Linked DNA regions of Homo sapiens: region 1 is linked to region 2. Evidence: promoter capture Hi-C in human tissues and cell types (Jung and others, 2019). All regions are on one chromosome and are shown on one strand. The core of a region is centred on a gene start or on the middle of the fragment in contact, and the rest is flanking DNA. Distances in the headings are between cores, read along the strand shown.

What was found. Contacts are between HindIII fragments. The study calls those that stand out against the background at their distance.
Region 1: a contact is called between a fragment that was not itself captured here and the fragment with the promoter of COMMD7 in region 2, in 2 of the 25 tissues and cell types used here (dorsolateral prefrontal cortex and mesenchymal stem cells).

What each region holds. Positions count from the first base shown.
Region 1 is chr20:32,279,143-32,285,835 of GRCh38, forward strand. The region is part of intron 1 of KIF3B (kinesin family member 3B); the gene reads left to right. Among named protein-coding and RNA genes, the nearest start is that of KIF3B, 4.8 kb to the left of the region's middle. The HindIII fragment of the contact is 6,386 bases long and covers 508-6,693 here.
Region 2 is chr20:32,738,364-32,744,919 of GRCh38, forward strand. COMMD7 (COMM domain containing 7) reads right to left here and starts at 5,104. Exons shown (of 9, transcript NM_053041.3): 1 at 4,945-5,104. The coding sequence starts at 5,028. RefSeq lists silencers at 1-132, 3,721-3,895, 4,880-4,949, 5,130-5,359 and enhancers at 2,769-3,270, 3,940-4,767, 5,655-6,556. The HindIII fragment of the contact is 4,810 bases long and covers 4,188-6,556 here.

The sequences.
Region 1 (6,693 bases), core at 2,451-4,950, 460 kb before region 2:
GAACTCCTGGCCTCAAGTGATATACCTGCCTCGGCCTCCCAAAGTGCTAGGATTACATGCGTGAGCCACCACACCCAGTCATTGCCTAAGAATCTTGTATCTATTAAGTGATGGAAGTGGACGTGTTTCTAGGTAAATCCTGTATTTTATCCCCCATTCACTGTTGCCTCTGATTTTGCAACAGTTGCTATTATAAGGCCACAGGGGTATTCTTTTGTTACTTTTAACTGGCTAGAAGTTAAAAGGCAAGGAAACAAGATCTCAGGTAAAGCTTTATTTAAATAGATACCACCCAAAGTGAGGATCTCAGAAAATAGTTGGAATCTTTTTTTTTTTTTTTGAGACGGAGTTTTGCTGTTGTTGCCCAGGCTGGAGTGCAATGGTGCCATCTCAGCTCACTGCAACCTCCGCCTCCCTGGTTCAAGCAGTTCTCCTGCCTCAGCCTCCCAAGTAGCTGGGATTACAGGCATGTGCCACCATGCCCGGCTAATTTTGTATTTTTAGTAGAGATGGGGTTTCTCCATGTTGGTCAGGCTGGTCTCAAACTCCCGACCTCAGGTGATCGCCTGCCTTGGCCTCCCAAAGGACTGGGATTACAGGCATGAGCCACTGTGCCCAGCCTGAGAGCTGGAATCTTTAAAAGAGGGCTTCTCTGTCCCTCATTCCCTCCTCATTAAAATGAGGGGACTAGGCTAGATTATACTGAAGGCCCTTTCAGTGCTGTTATGCAGTTGTGGTTAAAAGCTTGCAATCAGACTACCTGGACTAAAATCTTGGCTCTGCCACTTCCAAGCTGTGTGCTACTGAGCAAAGAGGTGCTACTTTACCTCTGAAATGATGCTCAGTACCTCTGAAATGATGAGAGGACTTTTTGGTAAGGGGCTCTGTGAGGAAGAATTATTCATAGTTCATTTTGAACCCCTTGGTGGTATAGTTTCCTCATCTGTAAAATGGGGATAGTAATAGGCCTTATTACCTGTGGCCTTATTATCATGTATGGCTGTTCTGAGGATTTATTTGAACTTAATATATGTGAAGTGCCCAGCATATTTGGTAAACATTAGCTATCGTTATTTGGGTTTAACGTGGTGCTTGTGCTGTATTTTCCGTGTATGGTTGGTGAAAGAATAAATTAAAGTATGTGATAATACCAGGTCCGTCAACCATAATGTCATTGCAAGCATGAAACAGTAGCCATCATGGCATTATATAAATGTTGATATTTTTATACAGTTGGCCCCAGGAACCTGTAATCATGTGCCACAATGGGTTGCAAAGAAAGGTAAAGCTGTCCAGGCATGGTGGCTCACGGCTGTAATCCCAGCACTTTGGGAGGCCAAGACGGGTGGATCACGAGGTCAGGAGATCGAGACCATCCTGGCTAGCACAGTGAAACCCCATCTCTACTAAAAGAAAAAAAAAATTAGCTGGGCATGGTGGCGGGCGCCTGTAGTCCCAGCTACTCGGGAGGCTGAGGCAGGAGAATGGCGTGAACCGGGGAGGTGGAACTTGCAGTGAGCCAAGATTGCGCCACTGCACTCCAGCCTGGGCGACAGAGCAAGACTCCGTCTCAAAAAAAAAAAAAAAAAAAAAAAAAAGAAAGAAAGATGAAAGCTGATGGTAGGACGTTAGGTTTAGTAGCTCAACATCCAATTCAGTAAATATTTGCTAAATCCCCTTATGCTAGGCACATGGAGGATGTGGAGGTCAATCCCATCTCCATATCCTTCGAGGAACTCAGAGCTTAATTTGCAAATTACTGCATTTGACATCTTTAAATGAATTCATATCTTATGTTTGCCTTGGCTGCAGAGTGAAGCCACTGATTCTAATCTGTTTTGTTGTGTCCCTAGACTTCTGTTAGGTGCCTGGATTAGAAACCTCAGATTGCTTCCTAAGCCTTTTCATCCATTAATTCGCAAGTCCCTGAGAAAGACCCCGTCTTATGTAACAGAGAGTAGCAATACTTGACAATAACAATAAGGTGCCTAATGGCTTACAAAAATGCCTACACTTGCTTACACATGCTTTTACTCATTTAATCTTATCTGTGTCCCTTCAAGGAAGGTAAGGTGCAGATTAGGATCTCTGTTTTATAGTCGAGGAATCTGAATGGAAGCCAAGAAGCCATGATGCTATTGAGTGGCCCATTTCACGTTGAAATCCAGTCTTCTGTCTTCAAATTCAGTGTACTTACCACTATCCTGCCCGGATTGTATTTATTCAGTATTTCCTGAGCACCTAGAATGTGTCAGTTCTGTTTTAGCCTGGAGATATCATGGTAGAAAGGTACAGAGTCCCTTGCTCTCATGCAGCTTATATTCTACTGGCAGCAAACAGAAAAATACAGCAGTAAATGAACAAGGGAATTTGGATGAGGAATAAGTGCTGGGGTGAAATCCCATCTCTATTAAAAATACAAAACTTAGCTGGGTGTGGTGGCACGTGCCTGTAGTCCCAGCTATTCAGGAGGCTGAGGCACAAGAATTGCTTGAACCTGGGAAGCAGAGGCTGCAGTAAGCCGAGGTTGCGCCATTGCACTCCAGCCTGGGCAACAGAGCGAGACTCCATCTCAAAAAGAAAAAAAACCCAACAAACAAAAAGAAAAAGAAAAGGCCTTGCTAGGATGGTGACGTTTTTGCTGAGATTTGCTCCCAGGGACGGGCCAGCCATTTGAAGACATGTCAGAAGGAAGAGCAAGGGTAAAGGCTGTGAGGTGGCAACAAGCTTGGTAAGTTCCAGAAACTGCAAGAAGGCTTACAATGGCAGGGACAGGTGAGTCAAAGGCAGAGTGGGGAGGTGGGTGGATGTAGGGGATGGAAGTGGTAGGGAGCGCTCAGATCATACAGGACCTTGTCTGCTAGAGTAATGAGTTGGGATTTTGTTCTAAAAGCTGTGGAAATCATTGGAGGTTCTGGAGAAGGGACGTGGCATGATCTATTTTTGTTTTTTAAAAAAATCACTCTGGCCTCTTTGTGGCAGTGAATTTTAGAGGGCATAGGAGTGGCAGCCAGGAGGCTAGTTAAGAGGTTAGGTGAGAGAAGATAGTGGCTTTCTAGGTTGGTGGCAGTGGAGATGGTAAGAGGACGGATTGGGGATGTGTTTCGGAGGTAGAACCAGCAGGATGGCGGGATGAGGGTGAGAGAATAAGGATGACTCCTGGGTTTTTGGCCTGAGCAATTAAGTAGATGTTAGAGATGCCATCTGCCTCTGAAATGATGAAAGGACTTTTTGGTAAGGGGCCCTATGAGGAAGAATTATTCATAGTTTATTTTGAACCCTGTAGAGGAGAGGCACAAGGTATAAGCATCATACTTTATAGTCTGTGGGGAGGAAATCCCAGATTATGCTGGCAGAAGCTAGCCAGGTGCAACTGATTGAAGCTTGACGTTCTTACTGTGAACCAAAAAAAAAAGTCCTGCTTTTCTACAGTCTGGCTTTTTGCCAGCCTGTGGAGCGGCAGGTGTGGGCTTTGCCAGGGCAGTACCCATCTGTCTTTCTGTCTTGTGCTGTTGGCATTGCAGTGCTGACTCGGGATCTTGGCTGAGGGAGCCTGGCCAGCTCTGGAAGAGGGAGCGGAATCACTAGTGAAGTTCACTTGGTGTGCCAAATGGCCACATTCTCCCTGCCAAAGTGGTTCTTTCCTGGTCACCAAATGACAGTTCTGAAGTTTCAGAGCTTTTGACTTCAGAATCCCTGGAAAACCTATTGTACTCTACCAGAATTCCTAGAGGATTCTTGAATCTCTTCTGAGCAAGGGAATTCGAGCTTCATTGTTATGTATTCCAGTAACTGTACTTGTAAATCTGGGCATTACAGGGTTGTACATTCAACATTGTGAATAGTAAAACTAATAGTCTTATCACTGCCACTTGTTTATTTAATTAAATTTAATAAATTTATTCATTTTGGAGACAGGGACTCCCTCTGTCACCCAGGTTGGAATGCAGTGGTGTGATCATGGCTCCCCCACAGCCTTGAACTCCTGGGCTCAAGTGATCCTTCTACCTCAGTCTCTTGAGTGGCTGGGACCGCAGGCATGTACTGTCGTGCCTGGCTAATTTAAAAAAAAATGTTTTGGGGACGGGTGTGGTGGCTTATGCCTGTAATCCCAGCACTTTGGGAGGCTGAGGTGTGCAGATCACGAGGTCAGGAGTTTGAGACCAGCCTGACCAACATGGTGAAACCCCTTCTTTACTAAGAATACAAAAATTAGCTGGGCGTGGTGGTGCGCACCTGTAATCCCAGCTACTCAGGAGGCTGAGGCAGGAGAATCGCTTGAACCCGGGAGGTGGTGGTTGCAGTGAGCTGAGATCGCACCACTGCACTCCAGCCTGGGCGACAGAGTGAGACTCCGTCTCAAAAAAAAAAAAAATTCTGTAGATGGCTAGGCATGGTGACTCACACCTGTAATCTCAGCACTTTGGGAGGCTGAGGCACGTGGATCACCTGAGATCAGGAGTTTAAGACCAGCCTGGCCAACATGGGGAAACCCCATCTCTACTGAAAATACAAAAATTAGTCGGGTGTGGTGGTGCATGCTTGTAGTCCCAGCTACTTCGGAGGCTGAGGCGGGAGAATCGCTTGAACCTAGGAAGCGGAGGTTGCAGTGAGCTGAGATTGTACCACTTCACTCCAGCCTGGGTGACAGAGTGAGACTCCATCTCAAAAAAAAGAAATTTGTAGAGACGGGTCTTACTGTATTGTCCAGGCGTCTTGGCCACAAGTGATCCACTCACCTTGGCCTCTCAAAGTGCTGGGATTACAGGCATGAGCCGCTAATTTTTTTAGAAAACTTGGTCTCACTCTGTTGCCCAGGCTGGAGTGCAGTGGTGCAGTCATAGCTCATTGTAACCTCCAACTCCTGGGCTCAAGCGATCCTCCCACGTCAGCCATCCAAGTAGCTGAGACTACAGGTGCATGCCACTACACCCAGCTAATTAAAAAAAAAAAATTTTTGTTTTTAATTTTTATTTTTTGTAGAGATGGGGTCTTGCTATGTTACAGGCTAGTCTCAAACTCCTGGCTTCAAGCAATCTTCCTGCCTCAGCCTCCCAAAGTGCTGGGATTACAGGCATGAGCCACAGCACCTGGCCACCACTGCTATTTGTATAACTTTGCAGTTTAGAACGCTCTTTCCTGTGCATTCTCATTTACTAATTGTCAATCAGTTGAGATCATCTGGACTACATATTATCCCTGGTTTACAAATGAAGACATTGTGGTGTGGAGAGGTCACTTGTTTTTGTCAGTAATATTGAGCATTTTCTAGGTGCTGAGTTAGGGAGATCCTTGCTGCTCAAAGTGTGTTCTCTGTGACAGATGTACCATGTCCCCAGGACCTTGTCAGAAATGCAGAATCTAGGCTGGGTGTAGTGGCTCACGCTTGTAATCCCAGCACTTTGGGAGGTCAAGGCAGGAGGATCACTGGAGGCCAGGAGTCCGAGACCAACCTGGGCAAAACAGTGAGACCTCCTCTGTATTTTTAAAAACAGAAGAAGAAGAAGAAAACAACAACAATAACAAGGCCCAGATCTAATAAATCAGAGCCTGCCTTTTACCAAGATCCCGGATGTTTCCTGTGCACATTAAAAGTTTGAGATGCTCTCACCTAGGTAATCAGTAGCAAAACTAAGACTTACCAATGATAATGACAATGAAGGTAATAGTCGTAGCTAAGATACATTAGCCAAGCACTGTTGTAAGCACTTTACACATGTTGTTTCATTTAGATTTAGACCTCACACCAATCCTGTAACACAGATTTCCAGAAGAGGAAAGTAGAGGCTCAGAAAAGTTCAGTAACTTCCTGACATCTGCTGACTCCAAGTCTATTGCTCTTTCTACCATTCATTCGCGTGTTCATCTGTTTTTCAGGTGGGCAGTGACCACATCTTAGCTGTCTTGTCAAAGGCCTTTCTCTTCCATACCTGCATAACTAATTTTAAATGATGACCAAAAAAAAAAAAAAAAACAGTGACTTGAAAGAATGTTTGAGAAAATCAAGGGAAAAACTTCTGAGCTAGATGGGTGTCAGTTACTTGACTGATGAGGCCGCAAACAGATATCTCATTTGGTCAGATAAGCTACCTCTCACACTTCTTAGTGATCTAACTTCAGGGTCCGAACAGCTGAAGCAGGTAGGAACTGTGAGCTTGTATTCTGAGTCATTTAGCTCTAAGCTGTTTCTTGATTCTGGTGATAAATATCTACACTGGGTGAGAAGATAGTGGATAAAGTCCCATATAACACCTGCCAACTAATTGTTAAAACATTCCATCTCACTGTGCCTCAGTTTTCTCTCTCTGCCCTGTGGGCTCATTATTTTCCTTTCAACACCTCCTGTCTTTCTAGACTCTCAGAAAGATATATTGGTCGAGGACTATGCCATTATAGGAAATTTTGACCTGAAAGGATGGTGGGAACTGGGTAAAGGCAGGATTCTATCAATTCTGCTACTTGCTGTGTGACTTGGAGCAAGTGACTCAACCTCTCTAGGCCTCTGTCTTGCGCATACATATATATATGTAAAATAAAGATATAGGACAGTTCTTCCCAAAGCCCTTCCAGCCCTGCCCACAAGACTGAACCTTGAGTTGGGTGATATTTTGTTCTTTCTTGGTGACTTCATACTGAGCTTTCTCCCAGACCTTTCGGGTGTGGCTTTTAGAGCGTATTTCTTGGCAGTCAGAG
Region 2 (6,556 bases), core at 3,854-6,353:
AGGTTACAAGGTCAGGAGTTGGAGACCAGCTTAGCCAACATGGTGAAACCTCATCTCTATTAAGAATACAAACATGAGCCGGGCATGGTGGTGCACGCCTGTAGTCCCAGCTACTTGGGAGGCTGAGGCAGGAGAATCACTTGAACCTAGGAGGCGGAGGTTGCAGTAAGCCAAGATCATGCCATTGCACTACAGCCTGGGCAATATTGAGACTATCTCAAAGGAAAAAAAATGTTTTCCTAGAGATGGGGTCTTGCTATGTTGCTCAGGCTAGTCTTGAACTCCTGGCCTCAAGTGATCCCCCTACCTCTACCTCCCAAAGTGCTTGATTACAGGCATGAGCCACCTTGCCTGGCTTTCTGCATGATTTTATTTACTTATTTATTTGAAACAGGGTCTGGTCTGTTCTCTGGGCTGGAGTGCAGTGGCATAATCATAGCTAACCGCAGCCTCCAATTTCTGACTCAAGTGATCCTCCCACCTAAGCCTCTGGAGTAGCTGGGACTACAGGTGTGTGCCACCATGCCTGGCTAATTTTTTATCTTATTGTAGAGATGGAGTCTTGCTACGTTGCTTAGGCTAGTCTTGAACTCCTGTCTACATGACTTTAAACAGGTCAATTTATTTCTCTGAACCATCTTTCTTAACTGTAAAATGGGAATAATAATAGTGCCTTCCTTTTAGAGTTGTTATGCATACATTTAAAATGGTGCCTGGCCACATGGTGCATGCTCAATATATTAATATCGTATAATAGCTATGTTCATTTCACTGCTCTGTGATTCAGTTTCTTCGTCTGTAAAATGTGAATAATAATAAGTGGCTGGGTGCAGTGGCTCATGCCTGTAATTCCATCACCTTGGGAGGCCAAGATGGATCACCAGAGACCATGAGTTCAAGACAAGCCTAGACAACATAGGGAGACCCTGTCTCAATTTAAAATAATAACAGCAACTACCTATAAAAGTGATTGCAAGGACTCAATTAGTTAACATACATAAGCTGGGCGCGGTGTCTCACGCCTGTAATCCCAGCACTTTGGGAGGCTGAGGCGGGCGGATCACGAGGTCAGGAGATAAAGACCATCCTCACTAAAGCGGTGAAACCCCATCTCTACTAAAAATACAAAAAATTAGCAGGGAGTAGTGGCGGGTGCCTGTACTCCCAGCTACTCGGAAGGCTGAGGCAGGAGAATGGCGTGAACCCGGGAGGTGGAGCTTGCAGTGAGTCGAGATTGCACCACTGTACTCCAGCCTCGGTGACAGAGCAAGGCTCTGTATCAAAAAAAAAAAAAAAAAAAATACATAAAAGCACTTAGATCCCTATTGTCCAGTGGCCACTTGCCACATAAGCGCTTGAAAAGGGCTAATCTGACCAGGGGTGGTGGCTCACTCCTGTAATCCCAGCACTTTGGGGGGCCAAGGTGGGTGGATCACTTGAGGTCAGGAGTTCGAGACTACCCTGACCAACATGGCGAAAGCCCATCTCTACTAAAAATACAAGAAAAAATTAGATGGGCATGGTGGTGAACACCTGTAATCTCAGCTACTTGAGTGGCTGCAGCATGAGACTCACTTGAACCCTGTAGGCGGAGGTTTCAGTGAGCCGAGATCACATCCCCGCACTCTAGCCTGGGCAACAAAGCGAGACTGTCTTTAAAAAGAAAAGGGCTGGCCGGATGCGGTGGCTCACACCTGTAATCCCAAAACTTTGGGAGGCCGAGGTGGGCAGATCATGAAGTCAGGAGATCGAGACCATCCTGGCTAACACGGTGAAACCCCATCTCTATTAAAAATATAAAAAATCAGCCGGGCATGGTCGCAGGCAGCTGTAGTCCCAGCTACTTGGGAGGCTGAGGCAGGAAAATGGCGTGAACCCGGGAGGCGGAGCTTGCAGTGAGCCGAGATCACGCCACTGCACTCCAGCCTGGGCAACAGGGCCAGACACTGTCTCAAAAAAAAAAAGAAAAGGGCTAAACTACTTTAAGATGTGCCGTAAGTGTAAAACACCAGATTTAGAAAACTTTGTACCAAAAAGTAAAATGTCATTGATATTTGTATATGGGTAAGATATTGAAAAATATTTTGATATTGTGGATTTAAGCATGCATGGCATTTTGATCAATGATGGACCATATATAAAATGATGGTCCCATAACATTATAATGGAGGTAAAAGATCCCCTGTTACCTAGTGATTGTCACAGAAATCCGCGCCCAGCCATGTTTGTGTTTTAAGCTATGTGTTACTACAAAAGTGCCAAAAAGTTTAACAAAACCAGCCTGGGCAACATGGCAAAACTCTGTCTTTACAAAAAATACAAAAATTAGCCAGGTATGGTGGCGCGTGCCTATAGTCCCAGCTATTTGGGAGGCTGAGGTGGAAGGATTGCTTGAACCCAGGAGATCAAGGCTACAGTGAGCAATGGGTGACAGAGCGAGACCCTGCCTCAAAAAAAAAAAAAAAAGGTAAGCATTCATGAAGTAAAAAGTTACAGTTGGCAGGGTGCATGGCTTACGCCTGTAATCCCAGCACTTTGGGAGGTTGAGGCAGGCAGATCACTTGAGGTCAGGAGTTCGTGACCAGCCTGGCCAACATGGTGAAACGCTGTCTCTACTAAAAATACAAAAATTAGCCAGGCATGGTGGTGCACGCCTGTAGTCCCAGCTACTTGGGAGCCTGAGGCAAAAGAATCACTTGAGCCCAGGAGGTGAAGTTTGCAGTGAGCCAAGATCACGCCACTGCACTCCAGCCTGGGTGACAGAGGAAGACTCCGTCTAAAACAAACAAACAAACAAAAAAAAACTGACAGTAGGCTAAGGTCAACTTATCAAAAACAGAAAAAAAAAAATTTTTTTTTAGGGATGGGGGTCTCACTATGCTGCCCAGGCTGGAGTGCAATGGCTATTCACAGGTGGAATCACCATGCACTACAGCCTTGAAATCCTGGGCTCAAGTGATCCTCCTGTCTCAGCCTCCCAAGTAGCTGGGACTACTGTGGTAGCTGTGCCACCGTACCCAACTAGAAAGTTGTTTTTTTTTTTTTGAGATGAAGTCTCACTCTATTGCCCAGGCTGGAATGCAGTGGTGCAATCGCAGCTTACTGCAACCTCCACCTCTCAGGTTCAGGCGATTCTCCTGCCTTAGCCTCCAGAGTAGCCGGGACTACAAGTGCCCGCCACTACACCCAGCTAATTTTTGTATTTTTAGTAGAGACAGGGTTTCATCATGTTGGCCAGGATGGTCTCGATCTCCTGACCTTGTGATCCGCCCACCTTGGCCTCCCAAAGTCCTAGGGTAGGTGTGAGCCACCGTGCCCGGCCTATTTTTTATCTTTTATACTGTATTTGTACTGTACCTTTTCTATTTAGATTTGTCTAAACACACAAATATTTACCATTATAGTCCAGTTGCCTATGGTATTCAGTACAGTCACATGCTGTATAGGTTTGTAGCCTAGGAGCAATGCGCTATACCATATATCCTAGGGTGCAGTAGGTTTGTGTAAATAAACTCTAGGATGCTTGCATAAGATAAACTCAGGGCTGGGCACAGTGGCTCACGCCTGTAATCCCAACACTCTGGGAGGCTGAGGTGGGCAGATCACCTGAGGTCAGGTGTTCAAGACCAGCCTGGCCAACATGGTCAAACCCCATCTCTACTAAAAATACAAAAATTAGCTGGGCATGGTGGCGTGTGCCTGTAGTCCCAGTTACTCGGGAGACTGAGACAGAGAACTGGTTGAACCTGGGAGGCGGAGGTTGCAGTGACCCGAGATCGCGCCACTGCACTCCAGCCTGGGTGACAGAATGAGACTACGTCTCAAAAAAAAAAAATTAATTTCCATTTCTATTTAATTTTTAAATGTGGCTACTACAAAATGCAAAGTTAGAAATGTGGCTTGCAAATTTTTCTATTGCATAGCTCAAGCTTAGAACCTTCCTGTCGTTACAAGTTCTAAGTTTGGTTTTTATCTCGCAAGCAGCACTACTGTGTGGGAAGTTGTGGGGGGTATGGAGATGAAAGAAGAGGGGCGCTACCTCCTGGGAAGTGACAACCTAGCGGGGGAAATAGATGTATCTTCCCAGTGGGGGTGAGAAGTGTCATTCTCACCTATTTCAGCAGCCTTGGTGGTATGAAAAGGCATCCCAACCAGCACAGAAGCAGGATGCCTCCAAGACTGCCTTGGTTGGCACCTGCAGCCTGAAGGGGGAGAAAAAGGCTTTGCTAGCTCCCCTACCATCGAGGATGAAGACCCCCACTGTACACAGTGTATAAGGTTTCTTTCCATGTGAATCCCAGTGACTCTCCTTAACTGGGTGGAGGTGGAAGGTGTCATCAGCCTTGTCCCAGATCGAGCCCCTCAGGCCCACAGAGCCCCAGTGGGGCCTGGCTATTACTGACACTCATGTCACACTGAGATGTAAGACGGCAGCCCAGGCCAAGCTTCCCCGGGCCCCCTCAGATTCTCGGGCCCTCCCACTCCCCTCAGGCTTCCTCGGCCTCCCTGCCAAACATCTATCTCCCTTTGGACCCCACTGCTCCCCAAAACTCCCCACGCCCTTAGTCTGTTCCTTCAGTTCCCCAAACTCCTTCAGCCTCATCTAGACTCCCCTCCGTCCCTCTTCTAGGACCCCAAAAGCTCTCCTCGGCCCCAGGACCCCGCAGAGGTCCCGTAGTCCCATCTCTGAGACCCCACAAAGCCTTTCGGACCCCTCAGGTGGCCCTTAGGCCTCCGGAGATCCCTTGGCTCCCCACACTCTCCTCAGACCCCAGCTCACCTTAGCCTCGCCCCGAACCCACCTCACACACCCCAAACGCCCACAAGACGCCGCTCTGTCTAGTCTCTCCCAACTCCCGCGCACCCCCGGACGTCCCCCCCACCCCAGGCCCGGATCCTGGAATCACCTGGGCCCCGCGCCCCACGCCCCGCCGCCGGGCCCACCTGCGCGCCCAGCTGGTTCAGCTGCTGCATGTCGCCGCCCACGGCCTCCGGCACCGGGTCCTCAGTGCAGTGCAGGCGGCCCATGGCGCGCGCCCCAGCCCCGCAGGTTCCACCGCCGCCGCCGCCCTGCTCAGCTTCCTCCTCCGCTGCCGCTGCCACCGCTGCCGGCCTCTCCGCGCATCCACAACCGCACTTTCGCCACGGCCGTCGCAGCGCACTCCTCCCCCGGCCGCCCTGGGCTGTCCGGAGCCGGGGAGCCCTCGCAGGGCCGCGGACACGCGCGGCCGCCGGGCTCCGGGGAGGGGCAGGGGCGGCGCCGGCACCGGCAGACGCGAGGTTTCCTGCCAGCTCTCCCGCTGAGTGACCTTTGGGTACGGCGCTTGGCCTCTCTGAACCTCAGTTTCACCATCTGAGAAAATGATGGCTGGGGTAGCTCCTTAAATGAGTTAAGCCTCCAGAAATGTTTAACGCAGAGACCGGCACACAAGAGGTCTTCAATCAATGGCTAGCTGCTATTATCATCATCACTGTTACTATGCACTCCAGAGATATTTATGGCAGCCTACTCGATGCCAGACACTGGGGACAGGGAAGGGAACAAAGCAGGCCAGAGTGTCTCTCGGAGAGCTGACATCAGAGTAGAGACTAGGTCTCAACCTTGGAAGGGCATCAGCATCACCCCAGCATCACCTGGTATTGCCGGGCCCCGCCCCCAGAGGATCTGATTCGAAAGGCCAGGGTGGAGCCTGAGAATTTGCATTTCCAATAAGCACCCAGGGACTACACTTTGAGACCTTCTGGAGTGGAAGAAACTGACTTACCAAAGTTTCCTCAAAATAGTGCGAGGGCTTTGACTGTGCGGGGCAGGGAGGGTGGTGGTGAGGTGGGTGAGGGGAGGTTACTGAGACCGTGATCATCACTGCAGCCCCTCAAACACTCTAACCCCCATGCCCTCTCTTCCCAGGGGCTCCTCACAGTTCCCAGGTGAATATTACCCTAATCCCCACTGGAAACATGAGAAAATAGAGACATGCTACCCAGAATCTAGGAACTGAACGCCAAGCCTAAGGGCTTCACCTAGCCCCTAAGTCCAGCCTTGAGGGTAAAGAGGTAATGCCGAGAAACCTGGAGCAGGGAAATGTGGGGGGTTTGGCTGGCCTTCCTCACCAGCCCTCCTCCTCTCCTCTACCCTTTCCTGAAAATCCCTTCTGTAAAAGTATAAACAAAATGTCTTCTACCCGGCCCGGCGCGGTGGCTCACTCCTGTAATCCCAGCACTTTGGGAGGCTGAGGCGGGCGGATCACTTGAGGTCAGGAGTTTGAGACCAGCCTCAACATGGAGAAACTCCGTCTCTACTAAAAATACAAAATTAGCCGGGCGTAGTGGTGCATGTCTGTAATCTCAGCTACTCGGGAGGCTGAGGCAGGAGAATTCCCTGAACCCGGGAGGCATAGGTTGCGGTAAGCCGAGATCGCGCCATTGCACTCCAGCCTGGGCAACAAGAGCGAAACTCCGTCTCAAAGAAAAAACAAAAAAGTCTTCTACCCAAAGGCCAAGCCCATCCCCTTCAGTCATTATATCATTCATACATTCATTCAACAAATATTGAGTG